Regions from separate parts of the Homo sapiens genome. Here region 2 is linked to region 1. The links are contacts of gene promoters, found by promoter capture Hi-C in blood cells and fetal thymus (Javierre and others, 2016). All regions are on one chromosome and are shown on one strand. Each heading gives the region's core, a stretch centred on a gene start or on the middle of the fragment in contact. The rest is flanking DNA. Distances are from core to core; before and after follow the strand shown.

Region 1 (5,760 bases), core at 1,361-3,860:
GTGGGAGAAGGGTAGGTTACTTTTCAAGATATACCTGTCGGCATCTACTGAGTTTTAACTTTGTGCAAGTAATTTCCATTTAAAGACAAAAACAAAACAAAACAAAACAAAACAAAACCCTTTCTAGTCTGTACCCCGATGCAGTCCACCCTACTCCAGCTACGGCTGGTGGGACCGTCCAGTCTACATCGCCTACCACTCCATTTTGCAGACGAGGAAACTGAGGCTCACAGAAGGGAAGCGACTCGGTCAGAATCACGAATGAGCAGAAGCCAAAAGAAAATGCTCTGTCAGTGCAGAGATCGCTCCAGCTTTGGAGAACGGTGGGAGCAGAAAGCTTAGGGAGTTGGCAGAGAGGACAGGGACCCCGGGAGAGAAATGGGGGCGGCGGTTGAGGCCGAGGGCAAAGAACCGGCTCTGGCAGGAGGTGGGAGCTAATCTGCCCGCCGCCGGGTCTGTGTGGCTCTCAGAATGTACTGGTGCGGGGATCTGGGGACCGCCCCCACTCTGTGGCTCAGTTTGGCCTGTGTTGGAGCCTTTCCTTTCTCCTGAACAAGGAGGAGAAAGCCCGAACCGGGCCGCTTTCCCGGCGGCCACTCATCCTGCTCAACCGGTGCCGACGCCAAGGCCCCCGGGCAGATTCCGCCAAACAACCCGTGGTCTGCGCCCTGGCACGGCCTCGGACCTCAGATCCGTTGTCGGCGAAAATAGGGTCCGAGAGACCCGATCCCGGAACGGGGGACGGCAGCGGGGTGCGCGGGCAGGAGAGGTAACAGAAAGCGGGGGCCTCACCTGTGTCGCCGCTTCTTCCGTTTCTTGGTCTGGTTTAAAGCAGATTTGGACATTTTTCGATCGCTGGAGGAAACATCTTCAGAATCTGAAAAGCGGGCGTAGGGACATGCGGCAGAGTGGGGGACGCGCTCCGCTGTGCCCGAAACCCGCGAGGGCCCCACCCCGGGCTGCCTCCGCGAGCGGCGGGGACCTGCTCTGTCTCCCCAGGAAGCCTGCGGGCGCCCCGGTGGCCGTCCCATCCCTGAGCTCAGGCTGACCTCTCCCGCGCCGGGGCCCGAATCCGGAGGTTTTGAACAGATTTCGTTGTAAGAGAGGCAAAGGCCCCGGCGCGCTTGGGACCGGGACGACGGAGAGCGAGGCAGCCTTAGGGGGCCGCAGAGATCCCCGGCAGCGCTCGCGACCCTGCTGCGCCCTGCCCTGCGCGGCCAGCCCCAATGCCCCGGGCCGGAAAGTTGGCCTCGAGGAGCGAGGAGCGGAGCGGAGGCGTGGGGAGCTGGGCTCCGGGAAGACTGGGGGCTGCCGAGCACCGTCCTTTTCGCAAGGCGGCACAATGCGTCCCTACTCGAGGCCCGAGAGCCTGCGACGCGCTGGTTTTCGTTGCCTTTCCACGTAAAACAAAGTAAAACGCAACGAAAAATCGGGGGAATTGCCAAGCTCAAACAGGAATCGGAGGTTCGAGCGGGCCGCGACACACCTCCCGGAAAGCAGCGCGGGGAGAAGGCGGAGAGGTCACCCAGGGTCCCCGAGCCCGCGCGTCCCCGGGCTCCAGTATATAGTGGCGCTTACGTGGGAGAGGATGGCGGCCGCTTTAGCTGCCGCGATGGCCGGGTTGTCTGAGCTCGTGGGGGTGAAAAATAAACCCCAGTTGACCAGCGCGGGATTTGGGAATCAGACAACTTTGGACACCAGGGATGGGGCCGGAGCCGGAACAGCATCGGGCTCGAGGAGTGCGGATCCTACACCAGGCCGGGGCCGCAGTGGAGCAGCGGTGCTGGGGCCCTCCGACACGGCCGGCGACTCTGCACCACGGGCTCCGACACCCCAAACCCAGTTTTCAGTGGGGCTCCAACAGAGTGCCGTGGCCGAGCCCTGCCCGACGCGGGGACTGGAGAACTGCGCGGCCGCCCGAAACGCTTGGGGCCGAAACCCTGCGGACGCCGAAGCATCCTCCCGGGCCCCATCACCAGGCGCGTCGGCCCAAGGCCCAGGCGGCGACCCCCGGCCTGGCAGGAACTTTTCCGCCTGGAGGCCTGGTCCAGCAAGCGAGAGCCGACGGCGCGGGGCTCCCGGCTGTCGCCCCCCAGTCAGGCAGCAGCGCAACCTCTCCTCACCTACCCGAGCTGGCCGTCTGGCTGGTGTCCAGCGGCCCCGATGCTCTGCCCAATGGCTGCAAGTGGACGCTCTGCGGGTCGGACAGCACTTCCAGGAAGGTGGGCTGCGTGTAGAAGCCAGGGAGCCCCCCGGGCCCCAGAAGCCCCATGCCGCCCACCCCCGCGGGGCTGAGCACTGAGCGCGCCGCCAGCAAGTGCCCGGGGGCCAGGCCGTCGAGCGCTGCCCGCGGGTGGGAGCTCGGGGGCTCCTTGTTCAAGCCCAGGATCTCCTGGATGCCGAACCCAGTGCACCTGGCCGGGGCGCCCCCCGAGGTACTCTTGGCCACTGTCTCGGATTTGGGCTTGCTCAGCGCTTCCCCTGCTTTCCCCGTCATCTCCCTGTTCTTTGGAGGGGCTGAGGCCGCAGGTCTTTAGCTCCCCCCACCCCCCCGCCGGGCTTCCCGCTTCGCGAAGTTGGTCCCAGGTGCCCCCTCCGGTGTCTAATGCTCTGGAGCCCAAGGAGATTCCCCTTTTATCCAACCAGGCGGCAGCCCAAGTGGGGTCAGAGCTGAGCAGCCAATCACCGGGGCCAGGAGCGATTAGGAATTCCAAAAAGCTGGCAGCTCCCGCCGCAGGCAATGTCGAATGGCCAGGGTGCTGGGGGTGGAGCACCGGGTGGGCTCTGCAGGATGCCCATGGGCAGGGACCCCAGGGGCCGAAGTGAGACAACCAGGTTCAGGTTCAGGGCTGTTCCGGGAGGCAGAGTGGCTTGGGGCTCTGGGCAGATTCTGGCAGGGACAGGTCCCTGAGGTCAGGTGGAAGGATGGGCTAAGGGCAGAGGTGAGAGACTGGGAGACCTCCTTCCCTCAACTCCTATGCAGGTTGGCAGCATCAGGGCGGCCTGAATATGGCACCTCTGTGTAAACGGTTGAACAAGGGAGAGGTAAGTGCTGGGGCAGTGTGTGTGGTGGTAAGCTGGGAAAAGATCAGGCCAAGGTGTGCAGAGGGTGATGTAGGGGTAGGGAAAGTTTGCTTCCCCAGCACAAGGTATAATGCCTAGTTCGGAAGAGCTACTCAACACATATTGGCCCAATGAATGAATGATAAATGGGTCAGAAAGAGGGGTCCCTGGTGGGAAAGAGGAACAGTGATGATTACTTTTGGAGAACAACCATGGACATCCAAACCTCTTCCTAGAGTAAGCATGAAGCATGCCCAACTTTCATGGGAGGACTTGATTCTTCCACCCAATTCATTCGACTAATATGTATTGAGCTACTAGCTCCGACCTGGTAGCCAGGGGTTCCGCAGTAAATCAGACAAGGCAAGGGCCCTGCTATACTTCAGAGTTCATTGAGCAAACAGAATGAAGAGGAAGGGATTGTTGATGTGGAGGGAGAGGAAGGAGGAAGCGGGTGAGAGGAAATTAAAAGGTAAGCTGCTTTCCCCTGCACTCCACCACCTCAGCTAACTCTTCTGTGACCTTCTTGGGGCTGGGAACTATCTTATCGACCTTGAGGCTCCCTTCTTCACTGCGCCTAGCATATGGTCAGTTCATGGTAGGTTCCTTGAATTGAAGGCACCCTATGGGGAGATAAGGACTAGGTCCATTGCTTTAAGCAGAGATTGGAAAACCAGGCTGGGAAGATTCCATCCAGGATTTCTTAGCCAGTCAGGTGCAAACCCCCAAATGGAAGGAAACCCCCTAGCCATACCTGGCCTATTGCCAAGGTGTCTGGTACCCTCGTGGCTGCCATGGGGCCAGCCTGAGAGGTAAGAGGAGGCACCTCAGGATGTGGAACCTAGACCTTGCTAGCAGGGCTGTTGTGAGGAGGGTCTCCACTCCCATTGGTTTGGTCCACATAACAGCTGGAATTAGGTAGGGGCATCTCATGGTGCAGGAGATATCTGGGAGAGTGGTGCCTCTGTATCCCATAATAAGGCCGTGCCTACTGTGTGCCTACATCATCCCAGGCCCCTTACATGGTGTCATCTCTGGTGACACAATCTCAAGGCATTCTTCACCTTATATTCTATGGAGGTGGGTCCCAAGTAACACCACTCACGTAGACAACAATGTGAATGGTGCCCTCTGGAGTTGTGCAAAGCAGTAGACTCACCTGCCAGAAAAGAATTTCTGTCCCCATTTAATGGATACACAAACTTATGTTGCCTAAGAGGTTACCTAGCTAGTAAGCATCAGAGGTCAGATGAGTCAGCGCATGAGTCTGATGTCAGAAGCTGTTTTCTTTTGACTCCATCCCTCTCTCAGCCCACTCTCCATGCCAGCCCACCCTGGGAGGATGGATGAGGATGTTATGTTAATGGCATCTGTCATGTCCCTGACTTATCATGAGACATCCACGATGAGCCAGATGCCAGCTGATGGGCAAACGTGAGTGATGGAAAACAAGTGTGTGAGTGATGAAGTTGGCTCTTGCCAGATGAGGATGAAAAATCTCTTGACCAAACCCCATGTCTGAAGCTGCCAGTTCCCAATATCAGAGAGATAGTCGCCATCCTGCTGTAGGAGGTTGGAGACCGGGACAACCCCAGGCCCCCTGAGAAAAACCCTTGCCAGAGGCTGAAGGTGAAGGGAGGACTCAGCTTCCACCTGCGGCCAGCTCCACCCTGGGAGCTGGACTCCTTGACAGACTCCTGGCTACGGGGCTGTCTCTGAGCTTTTGAGGTGTCACTGTTACTGCTCCCCAGCTGCCCAGCTTGGGCTGGACCCAGACTTAAGACATTTGTGGCCGGGCGTGGTGGCTCACGCCTGTAATCCCAGCACTTTGGGAGGCTGAGGGAGGCGGATCACTTGAGGTCAGGAGTTTGAGACCAGCCTGGCGAACATGGTGAAACCCTGTCTCTACTAAAAATACGAAAATTAGCCAGGTGTGGTGGCGTGTGCTACTCCGGAGGCTCAAGTGAGAGAACTGCTTGAACCCAGGAGGAGGAGGTTGCAGTGAGCCAAGATCGCGCCATTGCACTCCAGCCTGAATGACAGAGGGAGACTCCATCTCAAAAAAAAAAAAAAAAGACATTTGTGGACCATAACGGGGGACCCTACAAGGAAATGCAGATCCCCACAGCTTGGGCCAGGGGTGTGGGGAGTGAAGTGAACCCTTTCAGAGGCATTTAGTTTGGTCACACTGAGTCCAAACCTGGGCCTTCTCTGAGCTCATCATTTCTCTTCTCTCTTAACATCGATTGCTTTACCTAGAAAATAGCCCGATAATGGGGTTGTGAGCATCCCTTGACCCCCTGAGTTAGCATAGAGGACAAGGGCCTGGTCTCTAGAGCCAGACTGCCTGGGTTCAGATGCCCACTCTATCACTTGCTTGGTGACTTTGGGAATATTATCTAACCTCTTTGTGCCCTCTGTGCCTCAGTTTCTTCATCCATAAAATGGGGATCATAGTAGGACCCCACTCCTTAGAATTATCATAAAGGGCCAGGTGTGGTGGCTCACACCTGTAATTCCAGCACTTTGGGAGGGCAAGGCGGGTGGATCATTTGAGGTCAGGAGTTCAAGACCAGCCTGGTCAACATGGTGAAACCTGGTCTCTCCTAAAAATACAAAAATTAGCTGGGCATGGTGGTGGACACCTATAATCCCAGCTACTCAGGAGGCTGAGGCAGGAGAATCGCTTGAACCTGG
Region 2 (5,491 bases), core at 2,121-4,620, 110 kb after region 1:
GGACTATAACAGTATAACAGAAAATTCATAAAAGGAGGAAAAACAAGTGGCCAGTAAACATTACTTTATTAGCAACCAAGAAATGCGTATTAAAAATACTGAAACATAATTTTTCAGCTATAAAATCGGCATGTATTAAAAAGTTTAAGCCTACGGCCAGGTGCGATGCTCACGCCTGTAATCCCAGCACTTTGGGAGGTCAAAGCGGATCACCTGAGGTCAGGAGTTCGAGACCAGCCTGGCCAACATGGTGAAATCCCGTCTCTACTAAAAATACAAAAAGTTAGCCAGTCGTGGTGGCAGGCGCCTGCAATCCCAGCTACTCGGGAGGCTGAGGCAGGAGAATCGCTTGAACCTGGGAGGCAGAGGTTGCAGTGAGCTGAGATCATGCCACTGCACTCCAGCCTGGGCAAAAAGAGTGAAACTCTGTCTCAAAAAAAAAAAAAAAAGTCACTTAAATAGCAAAGTTTATTCTTGGATATCCCTCAATCTCACTTAGAAACACCATAGCACTTAGGAATTCTAAGCTGACACCAGGGTTTACTCAAGATTGCTAACAGCCATGAAAAGCACAACTATACTGGACAATGGATGATGGGATTTGGGCTGGTTATTTGTTGCACGATAGCCTAGAAGGCAAATAGACAATAGGAATACTTAAGAATAAAAAATTTAATTTGTGGGCTGGGTGACGTGGCTCACACCTGTAATCCTAGCACTTTGGGAGGCCAAGGCAGGAGAAATGCTTGAGCCCAGGAGTGGGAGACCAGCCAGGCAACAGAGATCCTATCTCAATAAATAAATAAATAAATAATAAAAATTTTAATTCATAAATTATGTTTAAATTTTTGGTTGTCAATTCTACAATTAAAAGCCTATTTAGGGCCGGGCACGGTGGGTCATGCCTGTAATCCTAGCACTTTGGGAGGCCAAGGCGGGTGGATCACTTGAGGTCAGGCATTTGAGACCAGCCTGACCAACAAGGCAAAACCCCATCTCTAAACAAAAAAAATTAGCCACGCGTGGTGGCACATGCCTGTAATCCCAGCTACTTGGGAGGCTGAGGCACGAGAATCACTTGAACCTTCCGGGTGGAGGTTGCAGTGAGCCAAGACCACTGAACTCCAGCCTGGGTGACAGAGTGAGACTCCGTCTCAAAAAAAAAAAAAAAAAAAAAAAATGGCCAATTTAGGCTAGGTGTGGTGGCTCATGCCTGTAATCTCAGCACTTTGGGAGGCCAAGGCGGGCAGATCACCTGAGGTCAGGAGTTTGAGACCAGCTTGGCCAACATGATGAAACCCTGTCTCTACTAAAAATATTAAAATTAGCCAGGAGTGGTGGTACACGCCTGTAATCCTAGCTACTTGGGAGGCTGAGGCAGGAGAATCGCTTGAACCCAGGAGGCAGAAGTTGCAGAGTTGCAGTGAGCTGAGCCACTGCACTCCAGCTTGGCAAAAGAGCGAGACTGTCTCAAAAAAAAAAAAAAAAAACCAAAAAATGCCTATCTAATAAATTCCTCATTCCCTAATATGTGTTCATGTAATTTATTTATTTTTTTTGAGACAGGGTGATATGGTTTGGCTCTTTGTTCACATCCAAATCTCATCCTGTAGCTCCCATAATTCCCACGTGTTGTAGGAGAGACCTGGTGGGAGATAACTGAATCACGGGGGCAGTTTCTCCCATACTGTTCTCCTGATAGCAAGTGGGTCTGCATGAGATCTGATGGTTTTAAAAGGAGGAGTTTCCCTGCCCAAGCTCTCTTTTTGCCTGCCGCCATCCATGTAAGACGTGATGTTTTCCTCCTTGCCTTCTGCCATGATTGTGAGGTCTCCCCAGCTATGTGGAACTGTAAGTCCATTAAACCTCTTTTTCTTCCCAGTCTGGGGTATGTCTTTATCAGCAGCATGAAAACAGACTATACATAGGGTCTCACTCTGTCCCCCAGGCTGGAGTAAAGTGACATGGTCACAGCTCACTGCAGCCTCGAATTCCTGGATTCAAGGAATCCTCTTGTCTCAGCCTCCCAAGTAGCTGTGACTACAGGTGTGTGTCACCACACCTGGCTAATTATTTTTTGTACAGATGGGTTCTCACTATGTTGTTTGGGTTAATATCAAACTCTTGTGCTCAAGTGAGCCTCCTGCCTCAGCCTCCCAGAGTGTTGGGATTACAGGTGTGAGCCACTGTGCCCGGCTGCATGTAATTTAGAAATACAGAAAAGCAGTCTGGGATCCAACATATAAGCACCTCTTCATCTTCCCACCAACTCACAAACCTGATCTTCATCTATCCTCTCTCATTTCCCTTGTTATACAAGAGTAGACAAAGTAGCTCTCTTCCAATCTAAAGCCAACACATCCATATTCTAAGTGCTATGCCTTCAAACCCTCTCAGAAACCTTACTTATATTTGATTCACCTGCGCCCTCTCAGAAACCTTACTTATATTTGATTAACCTGCATCTTCTATCGTGGCATTGAGATTTAAATATATATTAAGTCTATCATCCTAAAGCAACTAAACTCTGACTCCACTTCTCCCACTAGCTTTCACCCTTTGTCCCTCTTAAGAGTCAAACTCTGAAAGAATTATCTCCCTATCCTGTTTCCATTTCCTACCTTCCACTCATTCCTCACTCCATTTCAAACTGCCTCCACCATCCCACTAAAACTAACTCACTCATTCATACATTTAACTGCCTAAACAATGTCTCCAGTTAACAACCAAAGCCAAACCCCATGTCAAAAACTAAATGCATAATCTTTCCTTACAATCTGTTCCTCCTCCAGGGTTGTTGTTTTTGTTTTGTTTTGTTTTGTTTTTTTAGACAGAGTCTTGCTCTGTTGCCCAGGCTGGAGTGCAGTGGTGCGATCTTGGCTCATTGCAACCTCAGTCTCGCAGGCTCAAGATTCTCATGCCTCAGCCTCCTGAGTAGCTGGGATTACAGGCGTGCACCACCACAGCAGGCTAATGTTCTGTACTTTTTAGTAGAGACGAGGTTTTACCATGTTGGCCAGGCTGAACTTGAAATCCTGATCTCAAGTGATCTGCCTGTCTCAGCCTCCCAAAGTGCTGGGATTACAGGCATGAGCCACTGCACCCAGCCACAGCGTTCTTTAGTAAAAAGCTTTACTGAGATATAATTCACATATGATAATGCACATATTTGAAGTGTATAGTTTGGTATGTTTTGACAGATGTATTCCACACTACAGAGGCAAGATCCTTTTGAGTCCTCCCTGGTGTCCTGTGAATGATGAGGTTTCTCCAGTCCAGTGGGAGTAGGCACTATTACTGGCCCAGTGGTGCCAGGCACTGTTCCTTCCAATCCTTTTGGATGGTTCTTTCTTCATCCTCAAGAAGCTCCCTCACATGAATGTGCTGATCAGTCCTCAGCTAAATACTCCAGGAGGACCCTCTGTGGATCTCTCTTCTTTCTCTGTGCCGCCCTCTCCTCTCCGGTACTCTGCTGTCCTGTGAACTCTAGCTGTCTTGGCCTCTCCACACTCTCAGCTCCATTTCTTCAACTCAGGAAGCCCACCAGCCTCTGCCTGGGTCCCTCTCCCTGCACCACAGCCTGGAAATTCTTTCAAAGCAGTAAGCTTGGGGCAGTCACAAAGTTCACCTTTCTCTTTAGTGATTACTGTCCTTTGTTGCCTGATGTCCAGCATCCTGAAAATCATTATTTCATATATTTTCCATTTAAAAAAACTGTTTCAGGTAAGAAGGTGAATCTAGTCCCTGACATACCAAGTTGACCAAAAGCAGAGGTCCCTCCAATGTTCTTTGCATGCCACTGACTTACATGCTCAAGAGAAATCTAGGAGTCATCCCTGACACCCTTCTCCCCTTTCCCACAGCCAGTCCATCAAGACTTATTCTCTGTCCCAGACAGGCGTGGTGGTTCATGCCTGTAATCCCAGCACTTTGGGAGGCCAAGATGGGAAGAGTGCTTGAGGCCAGGAATTCAAGATCAGCCTGGGCAACATAGCAAGACCCCATCTCAAAAAAAAAATTAAGTTTAAAAAAAGACTTATTCTGTGTCCTAAGTCATTCTCAAATTAACTACTTCTCTCCATGTCCACTACCAGTACCCTAGTTCCAGGCAGCAGTCTTAGCTATTGCAATGACTTCCTACTTTATTTCCCTAGTTCCTCACTTGCCTTCCTGCAAACCATTTTTTACATGATCAGAAACTGAATATTGTTTGCTTAAAGCCTTTCAGTGGCTTCCCAGTGCTCTCAGTATAATACCCAAAATCCTTAGTAAACCTAAGAAATCTCACATGAGCCAACCTGTCTATCTCACCAGTCACTGTCTGAATTCATATTAGTCTTCTTTCAGTTCTTCAAAGACACTGTGCACCTTCCCACTACCAGACTTTGCTGTTCCCTTCTGAAAGCTCATCTCCGTTCTCTCCACCCAGTTAACTCCTACTCATTCTTCATACCGAAATATCTTTTTCTCAGGAGACCCATCCCTGCCCTCTTAGGCCTTGTCCCACATTGTACTTAGAACAATATCTCAGCAAATAATTATTTGTGTAAGGCCTTATCTACTAGAATGTTAGCTTTATGACAGCAGGAACTATATCTGTCTTATTTACTGCTAAGTCCTTGCTGCCTAGCATAGTACTCTGAAGTTACATAATAAATATTAACTGTATGAATTAGAAACACTAGGCCTTAATATAGTAGAATTTTAATGCTGTAAGGACCTTAGAGGTCTTCTATTCCAACAACTTCATTTTTTCAGCTCAGGAAATTGATGACCAAGGTCACGAAGCTAAATTTCTGATAAAGGTGACACTATGTAATAATATTTTAAATTTATTGGTAGCTTGCTAGGTGTCAAACACCATACTAGCTAGTTTTTGATTGAGGTGAAATTCACATTTTTGAAGTATACAATTCAGTGGCATTTAGTGCATTCACAATGTTGTGCAATCACCACTTGTATCAAGTTCCAAAACATTTTCACCTTCCCCACAAAAATCCCAAATCCATAAAGTAGTCACTCCCCATTCCACACTTTCTCTAGGCCCTGGGAACCACCAATCTGCCTTTTCATGTCTTCTGGATCTACCTACCCTAGATGTTTCATGTAAATGAAATCACACATTATGTGTCCTTTTGTGTCTAACTGCCTTCATATAGTATAATATTTTGAAGATTTATTTATATGTTGTAGCATCAGTACTTCATTCATTTGAATGGCTGAATAATATTCCACTGTATGGATATACCACATTTTGTTTATTCATTCATCTGTTGATGGACACTTGGGTTGTTTCTACCTTTTGGCTCTTGTGAATAGTACTGATGTGAACATTTGTGTAGAAGCATTTGTTTGAGTACCTGTTTTCAATTCTTTTGGGTATAAACCTAGCAATGGAATTGCTGGGCATATGGCAATTCTACCTTTTAACCTTTTGAAGAAATACCAGTTTCCCACAGGGAGTATACCATTTTACATAGCCACCAGCAAT

Evidence for each region. The method cuts DNA at HindIII sites, captures the fragments that hold promoters and counts their contacts. A CHiCAGO score of 5 or more calls a contact.
Region 2: a fragment that was not itself captured here is called in contact with the fragment with the promoter of VSX2 in region 1 in 2 of 17 cell types (M1 macrophages and M0 macrophages); the score reaches 5.5 in M1 macrophages.

What each region holds. Positions count from the first base shown.
Region 1 is chr14:74,236,299-74,242,058 of GRCh38, reverse strand. It overlaps VSX2 (visual system homeobox 2), which reads right to left and starts at 2,610. Exons shown (of 5, transcript NM_182894.3): 1 at 2,128-2,610; 2 at 793-877. The coding sequence starts at 2,497. RefSeq lists an enhancer at 294-1,259. The HindIII fragment of the contact is 12,282 bases long and covers 340-5,760 here.
Region 2 is chr14:74,126,278-74,131,768 of GRCh38, reverse strand. The region is part of intron 5 of LIN52 (lin-52 DREAM MuvB core complex component); the gene reads right to left. All of the region lies in intron 1 of LOC105370563 (a long non-coding RNA gene), which reads left to right. Among named protein-coding and RNA genes, the nearest start is that of LIN52, 44 kb to the right of the region's middle. The HindIII fragment of the contact is 475 bases long and covers 3,133-3,607 here.